Regions from separate parts of the Homo sapiens genome. Here regions 1 and 2 are each linked to region 3. The links are contacts of gene promoters, found by promoter capture Hi-C in human tissues and cell types (Jung and others, 2019). All regions are on one chromosome and are shown on one strand. The core of a region is centred on a gene start or on the middle of the fragment in contact, and the rest is flanking DNA. Distances in the headings are between cores, read along the strand shown.

The links. Contacts are between HindIII fragments. The study calls those that stand out against the background at their distance.
Region 1: a fragment that was not itself captured here is called in contact with the fragment with the promoter of HECA in region 3 in 1 of the 25 tissues and cell types used here (spleen).
Region 2: a contact is called between a fragment that was not itself captured here and the fragment with the promoter of HECA in region 3, in 1 of the 25 tissues and cell types used here (spleen).

Annotation. Positions count from the first base shown.
Region 1 is chr6:139,923,401-139,926,871 of GRCh38, reverse strand. No RefSeq gene overlaps it. Among named protein-coding and RNA genes, the nearest start is that of LINC02941, 51 kb to the left of the region's middle. The HindIII fragment of the contact is 4,135 bases long and covers 1-3,471 here.
Region 2 is chr6:138,416,419-138,419,532 of GRCh38, reverse strand. It overlaps HEBP2 (heme binding protein 2), which reads right to left. Exons shown (of 4, transcript NM_014320.3): 4 at 1-3,114. Among named protein-coding and RNA genes, the nearest start is that of HEBP2, 14 kb to the right of the region's middle. The HindIII fragment of the contact is 5,598 bases long and covers 1-3,114 here.
Region 3 is chr6:139,133,518-139,137,032 of GRCh38, reverse strand. It overlaps HECA (hdc homolog, cell cycle regulator), which reads right to left and starts at 1,953. Exons shown (of 4, transcript NM_016217.3): 1 at 1,366-1,953. The coding sequence starts at 1,636. RefSeq lists enhancers at 882-1,001, 1,867-2,161, 3,440-3,489 and silencers at 1,112-1,381, 1,782-1,861, 1,972-2,161. The HindIII fragment of the contact is 7,882 bases long and covers 1-3,515 here.

The sequences.
Region 1 (3,471 bases), core at 415-2,914, 790 kb before region 3:
ACCATTGACAAACAGGTCTCGGTTACCCTCTCCAGCAGTGGACACTGCTCAGAAGCTGTCTACACCATGATTTAACACTGTGACCTTGTTTTGAAACAGTTCTTTTTGACACCAGATGTCCAACAATGGCTATGTTCGCAGACCTTGCACAGTACCTGCAATATTCATGGATGTCATTTTGCTCCAAAATGTGCTATATCAACAGCCTGTCTCAACACCATCTCCTGTCTCAGGTTTCCTGAGAAAAGGAAGGCACTGGGGTGAAATGAGGAGACTCCACTGGATTGATGGGTGAGCCTCAGCCTTATCTAGATTCCCCTATGTTTCAGGGTAGTTTTGTGCACTTTGGTGATGCTGAGAACAGATTGATGCCAATAAGCCATTTGAGATAAGAACTAATTGGAAACAGAAGGTTGAAGAATGATTATGTTGGGAATGAGCAAAGGGGACAGACAAGTAATTATTCCGGCAGAATTTCTTTACACAAAACGCAGATGGAAGAGGGAACAAAATTCCAAAGTCCGTGGCAGAAGTACGCAGCTGCACATTTCTTTTTTGCGGAAAAGCAAACAGAGTGATTCACTGGGTTGGTAATGGGCTTCGGGGATCCCTAGGGATTCACAATGTGCTGGCAGCCCACAGCATGTAAAATAACTCAGTGGCCTCTGTGTACTTCGCCTCCTCAACTGGCTGTAATTGTGAAGCACATGGACAAGATGGAAGGGAAGGACTGAGGAGAAGCGGCCTCCTGTTTACACATGAATCACGGTGGTGGTGTGTTGCAAAGAAGGCAGAAACAGCAACGCATACATATTCCACATTTGTAACAAGCCATAGATCAGACTGGACTGCACACTTCCATTCATAAATATGAGCTCATAACAAATAGAAATCAGGGAAAGTAGAATCTTGCACAATATTCCTCAAAATTATTATAGAGTCATCAGGCTGCAGTTAAATCGAGCTCTGTGATTTCAAAACTATGATTTGATTTGAAAGGCAAAGACAATAATAATTAGTAATCAGGGTAGAAAACTGAGCATCCACCCCCACCCACAAAGAAAAATCCATCAGCAGCAGTTTTACTCAGCGAGGCTAATTAAAAGCTGTCTAACACTGTAATGCGTACAAAAATACAAAATAAAGACAGAAAACCTTGCCTAGTTTTGGTCTCAGACTTAAACGATATCTTCCTTTGGCTATTTGTGTGTGTATATATATAAATATATATTTATAGTCAACAGTGATTTAAGGACAAACGCATTCAAAAAACATTCAAGGGCATCCCTCCTAAAGCATGATATAGTCAAAAGGAAACTGGACTCCTCACTGGATGGGAACATGAAGGACATTGCAGGCTTCACAGTGATGAGAGGAGTTATTAACATGTAGGAAATTATAGAGAAAAAGAAAAAAATAAAGAGATATAAGACCTTGGCCGGGCGCAGTGACTCATGCCTGTAATCCCAGCACTTTGGGAGGCCGAGGCGGGTGGATCACTTGAGGTCAGGAGTTCGAGACCAGTCTGGTCAACATGGGGAAACCTCGTCTCTACTATAAATACAAAAATTAGCTGGGTGAGGTGGCGCATGCCTATAATCCCAGCTACTCAGGAGGCTGAGGCAGGAGAATCACTTGAATCCGGGAGATGAAGATTGCACTGAGCCGAGGTTGCGTCACTGCACTACTGCCTGGGCGACAGAGCGAGAGTCTGTCTCAAAAAAAAAAAAAAAAAAAAAAGAGAGAGATATAAGACCTCATATGAGGTAAGAGCCATAATTTGGAAACACAGATAAGAAAAAAGGTAGGTACAGTTATTCAAAAAAGAAAAGAGGTTGGGCGCGGTGGCTCATGCCTGTAATACCAGCACTTTGGAAGGCCAAGACAGGTGGATCATGAGGTCAGGAGTTCAAGACCAGCCTGGCTAAGATGGTGAAACCCTGTCTCTACTAAAAATAAAAATAAAAAAATAGCCGGGCATGGTGGTGGTTGCCTGTAATCCCAGCTACTGAGGCAGAGAATTGCTTGAACCCAGGAGGCAGAGGTTGCTGTGAGCCGAGATTGTGCCATGCACTCCAGCCTGGGTGACAGAGTGAGACTCTGTCAGAAAGAAAGAAAGAAAGGAAAGAAAGAAAGAGAGAAAGAGAGAAAGAGAGAAAGAGAGAAAGAGAGAAAGAAAGAAAGAAAGAAAGGAAGAAAGGAAGAAAGGAAGAAAGGAAGAAAGGAAGGAAGGAAGAAAGGAAGGAAGGAAGAAAAGAAAGTGAGAAAGAAAGAGAGAAAGAGAGGGAGAGAGGGAGGGAGGGAGGGAGGGAGGGAGGGAGGAGGGAGATGGCAGTAATATATTTCAGAAGAAAAACAATAGTAGATTTCAGAGTAATAGATTTTTGGTGAGATGAGGTATGGACTTTTACAATGCTTGATTGGTTTAGGGTTTTTAAAAATTGATGTCAAAGTACATCCAGTTGCAACCTCTTCCCTGCCCCAACTCTCTTTTTCCTCTTCCCTCAAGCGTCTAAACTCCTTTCTGCTGTAGGCCGACACAAAGAGTTCTTCTGTTGGTCTGGCTCTTCTTGACTTTTCCCTCCAGCTAAATCACACTCAGTCTTCTGGCTTCATGGGTGTTTTTTGCACATGATGCAATGAAATCTGTAGTTATATATTTATTTCTGTGTTGGCTTAATGTCAGTCTTCCGTGCTACACAGTAAGCTGCCTTAAGCCGAGACTTGTCTGTCTTGTTCACCACTGTTCAATCTGGTCCTCGGCCAAGAGACTGGCACAGAGTAAGTGCTCAATAAAAGCTTGTTTCTGAATTGATAAACATCACCCCAAAACCTCTCACAGACCTTTGTTAGTAGGAAAATGGTTAGAAGGAATACAGCTGGATCAAGAGACTGATGTATGCAAACAAAATATTTAAATTTGAAAAAGTAATTTAAGCAGCATTTTGCTACTTACAGCTGGCTAAAAGTGATAATAATATATAATTCACCCTAAACTGAAGTTATGTTTTTCTTCTCTGCTCTGTGCTGGCCAGAGGTGCCTCCTGAATCATGAGCTTAATATGATTCTTCAGGAAATGACTTAGGTGAACTGAAGCTATTACCACAGGCAGCGAATTGCCTTGGTTCACCAAATTTGCCTGTTTTGAGTGGCTTCGTCCAGAGAGACTTCTTAATTTACTCTAACTTTCTTTTATGGTGATGAGTAAGTACACTCAAACACTCAATACAGGTGTGCGATAGGTAGATTTTTGCACAATAGTGAATGTGAAGGCAAGCTTGATGCAAAACTTCCTGTCCCTTCCTACCCAAAGAGCCCTCTAACTTCCAGGAGGAAAGGTCAAAAAAGCTTTATCTTCAGCTTTGTTAATCCCAGTTTTAGTGCAGCTTGGGAGACTGCTAGTTAGGGAGATAGCAGTGGCTGCAGGCTGGGTTGCTACAAAAGATGGTAGCCCAGTCTTGGTATTCAGC
Region 2 (3,114 bases), core at 235-2,734, 720 kb after region 3:
CCTATGACCGCTGGCGAACTCTCCCTGATTGGGTGTTAACATGTATAGATCACGTATTCAGCAAATCTACGCTGACAGTTCAGATGTTTTGTAAGTCCTTAGATTGTGTTCAGGACCCTGTAGGCCCGAAAGGAACCACATACCTAGAATAGGAAGTCTGTCCTTGTGTGAATAAACTGCTGGTGCTTCTAGGAAAGAATGAGCCTACCATAGTGAATTTGCTATCAAGCGACCAGTTGGTCTTCACAGCCTCATCAGGGTCTCAGCATTGGTATTTGTTGCAGGCAGGTTGGATAGTCACAGTGAGCAGTGTCTAAGTTGGCCTTGGTAAGTGGGAGCCCATGTTGGTGGGTTCCATCCATAGCCTCCATCTTTGCCACCACTGCCACTTTATGTGTGCATTTTACCAGCACTGAGGTGGGCACTGGCAAAAGCTAATAGAACAGGCTAAGTCATTTCATCTACTTGGTTGTTTAGTGCCTCTTCTCTGGTGGGTGCTATCTAGTGGGCATTAACATGTGATACAGTTTTTCAACTTCTGTGTTCACTCCATATGCCCATCCACATGCCTCTACCCCAGACCTCCTAATCCATGTTTTTTTCCTCCCAAACTCCTGATCAGCTGGCAGGCCATTTTCTGCCACTTCCATAAATATTTTACCTGTCCTCCCTCACAAGGTGAATGATCCAGTGTACCTCAAAAAATTCTGCCCAGTTTTTGCAGGAAGATTGCAATTTTTTTCCCGTTTTTCAATGTCACCTTTGAGTGAAGGTCCATTTTCAGCTTGCAACTACAGAAGATAACTAATCAATAAACCAAGCCCAAGCATTCCTCTTCCTTCAGTGGATCATACAGGTCCTCCAACAACCACAGGGAGGGGGGATGTAGGTGCCACTGTGCAGACATGGCGGTTGGAGTAATTGCTCTTGCAGTTTGCTTATGTCCTCTGGTCTGGCTTGGAACTGCTCCTGTACATATCATTTCCATCTTCCAATGGGCTGCTGCCGATCCTACTAGCTTATGACTTAGTGCTTCCCACAGGACCTAGTTAAGATGAGCAGTTCTGGATACAGCATCACTGGGTCTCAAAGTTCCGTGTCTACCAGGGCCCAGTAGCACAGCAGAGGCTGTTTTTCAAAAAGCATATGATCCTCTCCTGTGGTTAGAACCACCTTCCTTCAGGGCCCCAGGGACCTGCACTGTGATTCTCTCATTGGGCCTTGTCATCTATTCCACACTGCATCTTCTTTCCCCCTACCTCCAATACATAAGATCTGCCACATCACATAATTCAAGCTGCTAATTTCTTCATATCTGTCACTTCTGGTTCTACTTCTAATGATTACCCTTTTTTCCTAATTATGGGCCATAATTTATATTTCTCTGTTTCCAGTAATTTTTTACTGAATGTTGGTAATTATGAGTGTTATGTTGTTTGTTGATGGATTTTGTTATATTCCTATAAATGGTATTGGGTTTTATTCTGATTCACAGTTAAGTTTCTTGAAATTAGTTTGATCCTTCCAAGGCTTGTCTTTAAGCTTTGTTAGGGGAAGTCCAAAGAAGCCTTTGGTCTAGGGACAATTTGACCTCAGTACTAAGGCAACACCTGTTGGAGGACTCCACCTGATGACCCATGCATTATGAGTTATTTCTACTCTGGCTAGTGGAAACACAAACTTTTCCCAGCCCCATAGATGATCTGTAAATTATTTGCTCTACTAATTTCCAGTTACTCATTTCTTGGCTTAAGTAGTTTCTTCTAACACCTTCACTCAACCAAGGACTCCAGGGGACCCACTGCAGATCTACAGCACTCTCTGTCTGTGTGCTGCTGCCTCCTCTCCTCTCACTTACTCACCTTGGCCTCCGGTGACACTGATCTCCATCTCCTCAACACAGCAGGACCACTGGTCTCTGGCTTCCCTCTCCCTGCTTTGCTGCCTAGAAACTGCCTCCAGGCCATTCGCCTGAGCAATCACTGGACTCACCTCATTATTCCCCCTTCTCGCAGAGATCACAGTCCTGTACTATGAACTTTCAGTGTCTGAAAACCATTGTTTCATATATTTTGTCTGGGCTTTTAGTTGTTTAAGAGGGACAGGTAAATTGGGTTCCCAATTCATCATCATGGCCAGAAGCAGATGTTCACCCGAGGTGCTTAAAAAATACTGTTCAAGGCAATATTTATTATGGTTTACTGCCCTGATTGGAGGAGAGGGAGTTTAGAAGCTTATACTCTTTCCCCACAGGTCAAGGAACAAATGTAGGGGTTATTCTGCCTGCCAAGGATGTCAGTCTCAATTATACATTCAGGGATTAGGCAGATAACCTGCAGGCCCAGGAGATCTGCTGTAAGCCAAACTTTGATTAGAACTACGTTTACTTTCTAACCTCTGTATGCTCCCATTTTAATGGGAGGAGGAGGAACTGTAATGACTCTTTGGGTTTCTGGGTATCAGACGTTAACTTGGACCCTGACGTATCCAGGTATTCCTCTTTCCCCAGGGTAGAGCCACCTGAGTAAATGGCCATAGATCCTTTAGAAAAAGAATGAGGGGATCATTACTGTGTACACCTGCTGAAATGTTGCAGGAAACTTTCCCCTAGGATACAGTCACCTCTGCAATTAATGAGCTCTAGGTCAGAAAACTGAACTAGAAACTGGCAAGGAATCATGTTTTTGTTTTTTAATTGGAGTGATCTCTCTCAGTCCCCTGCTCATCAATTCTTGCTCACTTTTGATTATATATAAAGCCTTACCCTTGTTGATTAGTCAGCTCTTTTGTCCCTAGGAATGCCTTGTTCTACCAACTATTTCCATGAGACTTTACAGGTCAGGACCCCTCGGCTGCCATTTGGAGCTTAGTGGTTAACAGGATACTGATGGCACCCTGGCTTCTGTGGCTGGCACTGCCACCTGGGCTCTTCAAGGTCTCATCATCATCCACATTGCTCTCAGCAAGTGAAGTTCCATCACAGCCCTTCCTGCCAGCCCCAGCCTGCCGAGGAGAGCCACCGCTGAGCTCCTTTATGATGCCCAAGCCCGCTTATCAGTGCATTCCCAGCAGCCTTGCTGAAGGATGGGTCCCCTGGGCCTTCCCGTGGAACAT
Region 3 (3,515 bases), core at 704-3,203:
GGGGCCTACAGTTCTAACAGGCGACATTCAGCCGCCTATGTTCAGAGCACTGTACGCTGCTTGTAAGAGCAGGTGCCCTGTTTAAAAAGTGCCTGATCTGGCTGGGCGTGGTGACTCACGCCTGTAATCTCAGCACTTTGGGAGGCCGAGACGGGCGGATCACGAGGTCAGGAGTTCGAGACCAGCCTGACCAATATGGTGAAACCCTGTCTCTACTAAAAATAACAAAAATTAGCCGGGCGTGGTGGCGGGCGCCTGTAATCCCAGCTACTCGGGAGGCTGAGGCAGGAGAATCGCTTCAGACCGGAAGACGGTGGTTGCAGTGAGCCGAGATTGCGCCACTACGCTCCAGCCTGGGCGAAATTGCAAACTCCGTCTAAAAAAAAAAAAACAAAACAAAAAAGTGCCTGATCTACATAAAGAATGGCTTCAAAAGCTGACGCTATAAATTAAAAGCCAGATATAACAATTCAAATCTCCCTTCATTAAAATACCTACGTTGTCTTCCTGGAAAAAGTGCCTGACTAGAGGAATTCAAAGAACTGTCCAAATAAGTAAGTGTTTGCCCAGCACCTTATAACGAAAACCATGGCTCTGTAATGAGAACAGAAATCCTGTCACATCTGGGCCAGTTCCTAAGTGTCCCCTCAAAAGGAACATTCAGGCACTACCTAAGATTATGAGGCTTCCTTCTGAAAATGTTAAGCACAATGACATAGAGAATGATTTTTCTTTTCTTTCTTTTCTTTTTTTTTTTTTTTTTTTAACTCCGGGCTGAGAACGGAAGTCAAGTTCAGATTCTCTTCCTTCCTCAAGCAAGCCAAAAAATTAAAGAGCAAACACAGAGGCCCTAAATGTCTCGAGGCCTCTTCACCTGTGGCGATCGACGCAGCAAGCCTGGGTGTGCTAAGAATTGAGGCTCTCTCTCCTTCATTCCGGGGGTTACGGGTGGCCTTGGAGCACCGGGAAGAATTAACCGGTGCCTAAGTTTTCAATCGGATCATTCTTCTCAACTTGGGCGGCTCTTTCCTCCCTTCCTTCCTCCCTTCGGCCCGGCACACACGGCGGGGCAGTGCCAGCGCGGGCAGCAGGCTGGGCCCGAGGGCAGCGCTGCCGCAGCCGGGAGCCCCTCAGAGTGTGGGGCGCGGGCTGCCCCCCGCGCGGACACCGGGCAGGGGCCGCAGATCTGTCCCCGCCGCCAGGCGTGGGGACCGCGAAGGGGCAGCCGCGGCGGGGCGGAGGGGCGGGGTGAGCACTTCCTGACTCTCGCATTGTCCACGCACCGCCCGCGCCACCCAGGGCCCCGCCACCGCGCCGTCCCCGTCGGGGAGGAAGTTGGCGCTCGCCCCGCCAGCCCCGTCTTACCGTTTTTGGCATCGCCCGCGGCCGCAGCCCCCGCGGCGGCCGCAGCGTTCGCGGCGCCAGTCCCCGCGCCTCCGGCGCCCGCCGCGCCTCCGGCGCCCGGCGCGCCCGCCGCCGCCGCCCCGCAACCGGCCGCCGCCGCCAGGGCCCCCCCGGCCGCCGCTCCCGCCGCGCCCGCCGCTGCCAGGGCCCCGGCTCCATTTTCCTGCTCGTCGCCGCTGCTGTTGGCGCGCTTGTTTTTGCGGCCGCCTTTGCTGTTTTTGGGGTTGGGCATCTCGCTCGCTCGCGTCCAGGTAGGTGCCCGGCGTCAGCGAAGGCGGATCCCAGAGGCACGGCCGTTCCCGGCCCTGCGTGAAGCCGGCTCCGGGAAAGAACGGAGGGCGCGAGCCGGCGGTTCCCTCGGCTCCCGTCTAGCCGCACGGCCCGTGCCGCGCCATCCTGGCCGCCGCGCCCTCTCCGGCTTCCTGGAGCCGGCACGCGGCCACCCGAGGCTCGCAGCCGCGCGGGCGCCGCGGGCCCGGGGCGCAAGCGAGACGCTCCCGAGCCGGAGGGAAAAGGCGGGTCTCCGGCTTGTTTTGATTCGGCTGCACTGACACGCTCTGGGCCCGCCCCCTCCCGTGACGACACTGGGGATTCGGCCTGGCCGCGCCCACCAGGTGACCTCACGGCTGACGGGACCGCCCGCGTGACGTCACGCCCCGCGCGGGGCCTGCCCACCTCGAGTGACGTCATCCAGGCGTCCCCACCCGGGCCTCCTGGACTCCCGGGCGTTCATGAGCTGCCCTGCTTGACTTGCTCCACCCGCCAGTGCAGTGGCATGTGGAGTTCTTCGGTGGCCTCCTGGCCTTAATGTAATTGAGGCTTAGAACAGTATGGTCTGGAAAAATAAGCTGTGACTAGAGCAAGAATGGAAAACAAAAGATTTTGGATTAATAACTCATTCAAAGGCTATGCCTTTCAGTAACAGTAATTAAAGAAACAGGGGACCGGGCGCGGTGGCTTATGCCTGTAATCCCAGCACTTTGGGAGGCCGAGGCGGGTGTATCACGAGGTCAAGAGATCGAGACCATCCTGGCCAACGTGGTGAAACCCTGTCTCTACTAAAAATACAAAAAAAAATTAGCTGGGCGTGGTGGCGTGCGCCTGTAGTCCCAGAAACTCGGGAAGCTGAGGCAGGAGAATCACTTGAACCTGGGATCCGAGATCGCGCCACTGCACTCCAGCTTGAGCAACAGAGCGAGACTCTGTCTCAAAAAAAAAAAAAAAAAAAGAAAAGAAAGAAAGAAACAGGGTAGAGTTCCCAGACAATGGGGATGAACACCAGGGTCCTGAATGGGAAGCCTTCACAGTCTGGTGGTGAAAACAATTCACTCAAACAAGACCCATCATCCAGGGATGTAACTAGATGTTGCCTGGACTCTGAAGCAGTCCCTGCTTGGGGGGAACCCATCCCTATGCATAGGGCTGAGTTGTCCTGAAAGATAGTGAAAGATAGGTAGCCAGGTTATGAGCAGTAGGAGATTAGGTGACACCAGTGAAGACAGGCAATATGAGGGCAGGGGACCCCTGGGAAGAGCTCCCCTTGATCTCTTTCTGCAATTCTATTCTACCTTTTCGGCCAACTCCTTCCCTTCCTTCAGGTCTCAGCTCAAATACATCACTTCCACAGAGACCTTCCCAGGAGAGCTGTCAGAAGTTCCACCCTGTTATTTTCCTCCTCCATCTCTAATTATGTTGGCAATGTAGGTGTTTACTTATTTCTTGTATATCTCCCTCTCACTGAAATGAAACCTCCATGGATAGATTTTATCTGCCTTGGGCACATCAGAGAACAGCTGGCATAAATTTGTTGAATGTATAAATTAGGTTCCTTCCTCACGAACTGTGGAGGAAAGACTAGTTTAGCTGACAGCTTTACAGTGTTCCCCTTTTATAGTGTAATCTTTAATTCAGCCCTTTAGTAAAAGCTCTGTCACGGTGTTGTTGTTACCATTAGAGGGTCTTGACTGCAAGTCGTCCAAGTTCTTGGCATTTTGAACAAACAATTGGACCAAACGCCCAGCAAAGCAAGGAAAGAAGAAAGCAGGGATTTATTGAGAATGAAAGTACACTCCACAGTATGGAAGCGGCCCCAGCGGTGGCTCAAGGTTCCG